Regions from separate parts of the Homo sapiens genome. Here region 2 is linked to region 1. The links are contacts of gene promoters, found by promoter capture Hi-C in human tissues and cell types (Jung and others, 2019). All regions are on one chromosome and are shown on one strand. The core of a region is centred on a gene start or on the middle of the fragment in contact, and the rest is flanking DNA. Distances in the headings are between cores, read along the strand shown.

What was found. The method cuts DNA at HindIII sites, captures the fragments that hold promoters and counts their contacts. A contact is called where the count stands out against the background at its distance.
Region 2: a fragment that was not itself captured here is called in contact with the fragment with the promoter of KCTD4 in region 1 in 1 of the 25 tissues and cell types used here (pancreas).

The regions. Positions count from the first base shown.
Region 1 is chr13:45,198,736-45,203,703 of GRCh38, forward strand. It overlaps KCTD4 (potassium channel tetramerization domain containing 4), which reads right to left and starts at 2,310. Exons shown (of 2, transcript NM_198404.3): 1 at 2,089-2,310. All of the region lies in intron 4 of GTF2F2 (general transcription factor IIF subunit 2), which reads left to right. The HindIII fragment of the contact is 9,631 bases long and covers 1-4,968 here.
Region 2 is chr13:44,554,301-44,559,268 of GRCh38, forward strand. The region is part of intron 1 of TSC22D1 (TSC22 domain family member 1); the gene reads right to left. Among named protein-coding and RNA genes, the nearest start is that of TSC22D1-AS1, 19 kb to the right of the region's middle. The HindIII fragment of the contact is 3,555 bases long and covers 228-3,782 here.

The sequences.
Region 1 (4,968 bases), core at 1,060-3,559:
ACCTTCCTCTGCCTTTCACAAGCTGAGTTTCTTTTTTTTTAACATGTACTTGCTTCATTGCCTCTTGTCAATAGCACTGAATGTAAGAAACATTCATTTTGATATTGAGGTATGAATATTTTGTGTTGGCTTCTTTTGTGTGTTAAAAATAAAAATTACACTGTCTAATTATTGACATGTTTTAAGAATCAAGGATTTTCCCATGTTAATGTAATTCTTTTTGAGTGTCCAAATTTTAGTTCTATTTTGAAATATAAAATTTATCTGCTCTAAATGTTGTCTGCTACTGGTATTACACTAACAAAAGTACTATGGCAGCCACTTTATGTAACTGATTGACCACAGCATCTCACAAACTGTGCCAAGTACTTGAACCTTCCTAGGACTAATAGGACGTAACCTCTGGCCACAAGGTCGTGTGAACATGTCATTGCAGTCCAAAGAATACAGCTGTAAATATTTTGCAGTGTTGAACTGCGTCTTCAAGGAAGCCCAGGAAAATTGCCTACATTGGTAAATGTTTTAGCTTCATTTGAGGAGTATAGAAAAACATAAGGCACTATGTGTCAAAAGGAGCACAAATAAAGACAACAGACTAGCTCAGAAGTTCAGGTGAAATTCCATTCCACATTTCTTTGATTTTCACTACAGAGGCAATCTTGACAATTTATAAGTCATATTAATTCATGTTTTACATGTACTTTGGAAAATGAGTATTTCAGGGAAACCTGTGTTTTATAATTTTGTAAGCAGAAGTCATACCTTAAGTTTTTTAAAAATGAAGTTTTTTTTTGAAATATAACCTGTGCGTTATTATTTACTGGAAAATTCTATTGTAACCAGATGAGCATAGCACTTATGTAAGCCATCAAATGAACATTAAAATTATAATATTGTACAGAACTCATTTTTATAGTGCTATTTGGCAAAATGCAATTTTACTTTCTCTTTGGGAAGAAGATATTTTAAGCTAATAACCATTATCTACAATCTCAAAATGAAGGGCATAACTTTGAAAACTCTTGTAAAGGTAGTACAGTTAGGAAGTAAATGACTAAAGAGGGTCTCTGTTACCGTATACTAGCGCCTGCCACTGTTCCTTCTGATTTTCTCATCACTTAACATCTGCTTGTGTCTTCAGTGATGAGGTGGTGTGGAGAAGAGAGAAGAGGATCTGAACAGGAGAACAGGATGTGATGGCTCAAGGGAGCAAATGTGGTTTCTTACAGAGTAGGGAGGAGTTATAAACTAGGGATGGAGAACTCTATCATATCACACATTTTTTTCATATTTACCATTTCTATAACTGAGGTACATCTTAATATCGTTAGCTTGTCAAAGTTTAGCAGCAGTATTTTGTCTTGGTGGCACGTAAAATAATGGTTGCTATTACAAATGATAGCATCTTATAGTTGATGAAATATTTGAGCAGCTCTGTGAGCTATTCCCTCCGTATCACAAGAAAGTAAAATTAACAGACAGGGAGGAGGGAAAGAATTTTGCAGGGAGATGAGAGAGAGAGGGAGAGACAAAACAATGTGGCTGCTTGATGTTAAAATTAGGCAAATTATTTTATAACTTTTATAAAATTAAATTTTATTTTTTGATACAGGGTCTTGCTCTGTCACCCAGGCTGGAGTGTATTGCAACCTCAACCTCCTGGGCTCAGGTGATCTTCCTGCCTTAGGAAACTCCCGTATAGTTGGGGCCACAGGCATACCCCACCATACCTGGCTAACTTTTTTATCTTTTTGTGGAGACTGGGTCTCACTTTGTTGCCCAGGCTGGGCTCAAGCTATGCTGCTGCCTCAGCCTCCCAAAGTGTTGGGATTACAGATGTGAGCCACCATGCGTGGCAAAATTCCTGAAGATCAAATAGAGATCAGAATATTACTTCACAAGTAAAGAGCAGCTTTTTAATAATACAGGGATAGAAAGTTTGCCTAACTGGTTTGTTAAGATGCTAGTACCTTTTATTAGTAGACCTCAACTCAGAACCACAGGCAAAAAAACTTCTAGGAACATATTTTAAATGAGAAGAAAGGAGACTACTAGGAATATTAAAAATGGTTTGCCTTTTAAATGTACCTGCTTCTTGAAAAGATTATTTCTTCAGTCTTTTCCCAGAGAGTGTCGACACAGGTGTGATGTAATTAAGAGTCAGGAGAGTAAGGAGAGTAACTTCGAGGTCTGGAGGATCAGCCTGAAATGTTGGTCAGTAGTCCTCTGGTCTGGGTTTTTACAGGAGCTGGAAGTTCTCTTAAAGGCCTCCACATTCAGCTGGATCCAGAAGGTCTTGTGGAAATGAATGAGTGTAACTTCCTGATGCCTAAGACTTCCTAACATACTTGATTTCATTACTTACATGCCAATGCTAATAAGCAGTGTTGCTGCTTGCTTATTCCTTTAACTTCTTCAAACTAGGGATGCCCTTAACTTTTTAAAAAAAGTGCCAGTATCATTTCTCCTCAGTTCTTTGACATAGAGTGTATGTCAAGTTCAGATATAGGGCAGGATAATCCAGCATAGAGCACAAATTTAAATATTTTCAAGCCTTGGGCAGCTTCTTAACATTTTGTTATTCTCTTTCTATTCAAAGAAAATTTAATTATATCTAGGTCTTTTGGAAAGTACTAGAGCAAACAAAATAACACTAATGAAATAATAAAACATCCCCAGTTGGAGAGGAAGGCTAGCATTTTTATTTAGTGAAAGAGACCTAGAAGAGATCTCAGACATTCTAGTAATATCATTATTATGGATGCTGAGGCCCAGAGATGTAAAATAACTTCTCCAAAGTAACACTGCTGTTTAGTGACAGAATCTTAACTAGAAGCCTTCAGTTCTTTTTATAGGATGTGCTTTATATACATAACCTTTAAAATTTTCTCTCGAGTTTTTTCTGATTTTAGGTGGTGGGATATACATAAATTACCATCATCAAAGATGTGTGTTCATACTCAATAAGATTCTTTTGGTTGCAAGTAGCAGAAACCAGTCAACAAACCAATCTAGCCAAAAAAGGAGTGCGGGGGAGAATTTAGAAAGAATCCCATACTATTTCCCAGAATCCAAAGAAGAGCAAATGGCCAAGGAAAAGATATGAATTGAGCCATTCCAAAGCCTTTGGTAGGATGAGTTTGTGTGGCTTCTCTGCAGAGTGCTGGCAAGACCATGTCCTTCTAGTAATTGGTGGTGTGAGCCCCTTAGTTGAACATTTCAAGCACAAGAGCGAGCAAGCACAGACACACAGAGGCCATTCCTACCACCTTCAGTACTCTTCCTTCTTACCCCCACCCACCCCAGTCTAAATCCTACCCATTTTTCAAGGTCCAGCACAATCATTGCTTATTCTTCAAAACTCTTCTTGGCCTGGCGTGGTGGCTCACACCTGTAATCCTAGCACTTTGGGAGGCTGAGGTGGGCGGATCACCAGAGGTCAGGAGTTCAAGACCAGCCTGGCCAACATGGCAAAACCCCATCTCCACTAAAAATACAAAAATTAGCCTGGCGCAGTGGCACATACCTGTAATCCCAGCTACCCAGGAGGCAGAGGCAGGAGAATCGCTTGAACCCAGGAGGCGGAGGTTGCGGTGAGCCAAGATCGCGCCACTGCACTCCAGTCTAGGCAACAGAGCGAGACTCCATCTCAAAACAAAACAAAACAAAAAACTCTTCTTGATCTCTAGCTAGACATCTGAGTGGGTGTGTGTGTGTGTGCAAGTACATGTGTGTTTAATCCCAGTACTCTTGTATGTTTCTATTTTATGACCTTTAACATATTCAACTTGACAGAAGAATCCTACAGCACATATGGAATAACCAGTAATTGGTCAGTTACATTAAAAGATGGGAAATCATAAAAATGATATCAATATGCAGTTCCTATCTGCCTTAAACATTTTATCTTAAAACTTATAAATGTACGTTTAGTTGGCTGGGCACGGTGGCTCACGCCTGTAATCCCAGCACTTTGGGAGGCCGAGGTGGGCAGATCACGTGAGGTCAGGGGTTCAAGACCTGCCTGGTTACCATGGTGAAACCCTGGCTGTACTAAAAATACAAAAATTAGCTGGGCATGGTGGCGCACGCCTGTAATCCCAGCACCTCAGGTGGCTGAGGCATGAGAATTGCTTGAACCTGGGAGGCGGAGGTTTCAGTGAGTTGAGATTGCACCACTGTACTCCAGCTACTCCAGCCTGGGTGACAGAGTGAGACATCATCTCAGAAATAAAATAAAATAAAATAAATGTACATTTAGTTGCTGATGTATATGTAAGACAAGGCCTTTGCTTTGAATATAGGATACTGACTGACCATCTGTTTTCTTTGTTTTTCAAAAATTAAACCCATCATTTAGTTTTTCAGTCTCATTCTGTCGCCCAGGCTGGAGTGCAGTGATGTGATCTCAGCTCATTGCAACCTCTACCTACAGAGTTCAAACAATTCTCATGCCTTAGCCTCCCAAATAGCTAGGACTACAGGCATGCACCACCACGCCCACCTTTTTTTTTTTTTTTTGGATTTTTAGTAGAGAGACGGTTTCCTTGTGTTGCCTGGGCTAGTCTCAAACTCCTGGCCTCAAGTGATCTGCCCTCCTCGGCTTCCCAAAGTTCTGGGATTACAGGCGTGAGCCACTGCACCTGGCCCCATGATTTAGTTTAGATTTTCGATTTTGGTTTCTTTGAAAAGGAGCAAGAACTTAGACACTGTGAAACTATCTAAATGCAGACTCTTTCTAGACTCCTGTGCTTCCCTTTCAGTCTCCAGTTGTCTCACCTGTACCTAATTTGACAGTATTGTGTTACAACTTAACTTTATATCATCTTACCAAAGCATTCTACATAGTTTTTATAGAAACACCCCCCAAACTCCCCTCATACTTGCAATTTAATGGGCTTCTGTAATATATAATCAGATTACATAATTATTAAAACTAATATAGACAAGTTCTAGCATCGTTTGAGC
Region 2 (4,968 bases), core at 755-3,254, 640 kb before region 1:
TGCCAAGACTAACGTTCATTAAACTCTACCTCATTATGCTTATTCATCGATAGTCCAGATGCATCAATTCATTTGAATAGAAAAACTGTCATGTATACCATATACAGAATAACAATTGAGCACAATATAAACTTATTTGGATAATTGAGAAGATAAATCAAGATCTTATGATGCTTGAGTGTACTAGACGAAACTGTTGCAGACCAAAACCATGTCTTTTTTTTTCTTCATACCCTTAGTATCTTTGTTCAGTGCTAGGTATGTAACAAGCATTCAATAAATATTGAATGAGTATTTTTGAAGTAAATAAATCATCCCAATACCAGGAACAAAAAAAAAAAAAAAAAAAAAAAAGAGGTACTGTTAAAAACCTTCTAGGCTAAAAGACAATTGCTTAAACTACCTTAGGTAATTTTTCTAAAATAATTTTTATATAGATAAATTCGCTGATGCAGGCAATGAGGACACAGTGACCCTGACCGCAAACTGCACCAAATGTTTACCAAATTATTATCACCAAATCCCCTCCTTCTCTTCCACTCCTTCTAATGGTCTTCAACTCCCTATTTCTCTTGTCTCCTCTCCCCTTCTCATGTGTTAAGCCTAATTCAGATTACTGAATGAATGGTACTAATGGCATTTAAGTCAGACATTCATGAACTCAAATATAGTATAACTTGGTTTTTGTTAGGCCAATGTGTCCACTTGTTAGAAGCTTTTGTTTCTACATATTGGATCAATTTCCTAATAAGCCACTTGTAGATCCCTAAGGGCTAAGAGTCTGAATACAACTGGAAAGATAACTAGACCTCTAAATTAAAAAAAAAAAAAAAATCCAAAGTTGATCTTAGCCTGTCCATTTTATAAAAGGTAATCCAGTTTTAAAATATTATCTCTTAAGAAGATTCAATAATCACAAGTGTCTTGCAAAAATGCCAGAATGTTATTCTTAGGCCCTTGTGAATTTTTTTTTTTCCAGAAAACGTAAGCAAACAACAACAACAAAAGACTAATAAGAAATACGTAGGTCGGGCGTGGTGCGTCATGCCTGTAATCTCAGCACTTTGGGAGGCCAAGGAGGATGGATCACCTGACCTCAGGAATTTGAGACCAGACTGGCCAACAGTGAACTCTGTCTCTACTAAAAATACAAAAATAAGCTGGGTGTCGTGGCGCGAGCCTGTCATCCCAGCTACTCAGGAGGCTGAGGCGGGAGAACCACTTGAACCCACGAGGTGGAGGTTGCAGTGATCCGAGATTGTGCCACTGCACTCCAACTTGGGCGACAGCAAAAGACCCTGTCTAAAAATAAATAAATAAATAAATAAATAAACAAATATGTACAGCCATCCTTGTCTTCAAGCACTTTGAGAACATTTTAGCCATTGATGTTTACATGTGGCACCCACCCATGCAAGATAGGTTTCTGTATTTATACATTAAAATACCAAAAAAAAAAAAGTATGAAATGCCTTCAAAAATGTTCAAAGCTTGAGAGAAAAGCTTTTTTCATTAGTCAAGGTGTTTTGATATGGTATTAAAATAATATCTAACAAAATGAAAAAAAATTCTCTTTTCTCCATGAATGCTGACACTGGGGAGAATGGCAATTTTAGGCTGTCAAGAGCATACTAAATAAGTAAAATATCTAGAAATGCAATCGACTTGCACGGGATGTGAAAATTACTGGCTTTCAGTCACTTTTGGCTATTTCATACTGGCAGAAAGTAAAAATTATGGAACACACAAGTAAGGCTTATATTACATTACTATTAAATGATAAATAAAGCTACTATATCTTTTAAGATACATCTTTACTATTGTTAACTATAATTCAAAAAAATTCCAATTGCTTCAATAGCTCCAACATTTATAAGTGAATCAGGAAATAAATAATGGAAACGAAAAAAACAGTTCTACTGTTAAAAAAAAAAAACAAACCACCACCACCACCATCTCTTGGGGCCGTGCACGGTGACTCAACACCTGTAATCCTTGTACTTTGGGAGGCCAAGGCAGATGGATCACAAGGTCAGGAGTTCAAGACCAGCCTGACCAACATGGTGAAACCCCGTCTCTTAAAAAAAATACAAAAATTAGCTGGGCGCAGTGGTGCACGCCTGTACTTCCAGCTACTAGGGAGGCTGATGCAGGAGAATCACTTGAACCCAGGAAGCGGAGGTTGCAGTGAACCGAGATCGTGCAAATGCACTCCAGTCTGGGTGAGAATGAGACGCCATCTCAAAAAAAAAAAAAAATCTGAATACTTTAAAAAATTTTTGTAGCCAGGTGCAGTGGCTCATGCCTGTAATCCCAGCATTTTGGGAGGCCAAGACGAGCAGATCACTTAGGGTCAGGAGTTCATGACCAGTCTAGCCAACATGGCAAAACCCCGTCTCTACTAAAAATACAAAAACTAGTTGGACGTGGTGACGCACACCTGTAATCCCAGCTACTCAGGAGGCTGAGGCAGGAGAATCCTTTAAACCCACAAGGCGGAGGTTGCAGTGAGCCGAGATCATGCCACCTCTGAAGACCTAATGCAGATGTCTAAGATTCAAGGCCGAGCATGGTGTCTCACACCTGTAATCCCAGCACTTTGGGAGGCCGAGGCGGGCGGATCACCTGAGGTCGGGAGTTCGAGACCAGCTTGACCAACATGGAGAAACCCCATCTGTACTAAAAATACAAAATTAGCCAGGCATGGTGGTGCATGCCTGTAATCCCAGCTACTTGGGAGGCTGAGGCAGGAGAATGGCTTGAACCCGGGAGTCAGAGGTTGTGGTGAGCCGAGATCGCACCATTGCACTCCAGCCTGGGCAACAAGGTAGAAACTCAGTCTCAAAGGAAAAAAAAAAAAATTACAAAAAAAGAAAAAGTGGCCGGGCGCAGTGGCACACACCTGTAATCCCAGCACTTTGGGAGGCCAAGGTGGGCGGATCACAAGGTCAAGAGATAGAGACCATCCTGGCCAATGTGGTAAAACCCTGTCTCTACTAAAAATACAAAAATTAGCTGGGCATGGTGGTGCACACCTGTAATCCCAGCTACTTGGGAGGCTGAGGCAGGAGAATTGCTTGAACCTGCGAGGTGGAGGTTGCGGTGAGCTGAGATCACGTCACTGCACTCCAGTCTGGCGACAGAGCGAGACTCCGTCTCAAAACAAAACAAAACAAAAAGTTAATTCTACCTTCTAGAATAAGCAAAAGGACAAGCTAAATCCTATTTTTCAAATGAATATTAAAGCATTCATATAAACTATCATTTTTTTTATACTTCCCCAAGTGAGTTCACAGGAAAATTATCACTTTCTTGTTCCAATAATAAATATGATGTGAAGATAAGTTGTAACCACTCAAAATTAAAAATCTGATTCATAAAATGTGCTATTATTCAACTGATTAAAATTAGGTTTCTACTTTAAAAGTATTTTAATAGAATTTTAATTTGATTGCATTAAGCTTATAAAAAATATCCTAAGTATCAACAGCTTATAGAATCTGAGACCACTAGAAGGCCAGTAATCTAATAATTTATTGAAATATTTATGTCATGAAACTGGGTGTCTCCATATTCACTTATTTTTCTGAAATTGCAATTTACTTCAGCAAATTTTCCAAATTTAAAGTTTACTTTTTAGCAATAAATTTGGAGAATTTAACCACTGGGGTAGAAACTATACTTTTTAAATGTACTAAGAGAAAATAATAATAAAGATTGAAGGAATTATTAGGTACACTCATTACTGGACAACTCCATAAAATAGTGACCGAAATAACCAGGAAAGTCTATAGTGTCAAATGCCTCTATACTCAATAGGCTAACGACTGCTTTTTATAGTTGTCAGCTGTCACCTTTTGTTCTTCTCAATGGACAAAAGAAACCTCCAGAATGTGGTTGAGTGCAAGTTTTGGAATGAAATCACCTAATGGAATACTGACTAGCTCCATCACTTAGTAGTTAATGTGACCAAGGTCCTTAACTTCACAATATTTTATTTGTAGTAACATATCAACCAATAATACAGTAAAAAAAATTTTTGAATCATTTCCCTGTCATATAATCCTCAGGTCTCCCATGAATTTATTATCAATCTTATACAAGCTTACAAAAAAGAGGAGCTAAACAGTTGCCAATTTAAATGTTATGTACCTTCAGGCTGGGCGTGGTGGCTCATGCCTGTAATCCCAGCACTTTGGGAGGCTGAGGCGGATGGACAGTCTGAGCTCAGAAGTTCAAGACCAGCCTGGCCAAGATGACGAAACCCCATCTCTACTAAAAATACAAAAATTAGCCGGGCATGGTGCCACATGCCTGTAATCCCAGCTACTTAGGAGGCTGAGGCAGAAGAATCACTTGAACCCAGGAGGCAGAGGCTGCAGTGAGCCGAGATTGTGCCACTGCACTCCAGCCTGGGTGACAGAGCAAGACTCCATCTCAAAAAAATAAAATAAAATAAACATTATGTACCTTCACCAAGTATTAAATATACTTGTTCCTAAAAGGATTAGGGTGTGATATCATGATCGTTATTATGGGATTCAGAGATGGAGGTAGGAAACCGCTAAGTTATCTAGGGTGAAATTCTCATTTCCATCTCCTCTTTCTGTACCACCCTTCCTGCCTGGAACCTCAAAATAGGTAAAATTCCTAATAATAAAACATAACCAATTGTACAAATGTATAAATCCTGCTATCCATTATTTCAGAGAATAACTGATGAATGTTTGGTGGATCTCCATAGAGGAAAATAACACATTGAAAATGAAGAACAGTTTAAAACTCTTATTCCAAATTCTACAGTAAAATGAACCATCAACCAAAGACAAGACTTGGCTCCATGTTTGACTCTCAAAGAAAAGTTTAGGTGAACTACAGCAATAAAAACCTTTTAAAAGAGGAAGAAAAGGAAAGACTCAGATATCTGAGCACCTAAGCAGTGGACAGTCTATAGCCCAAACCAGGGAT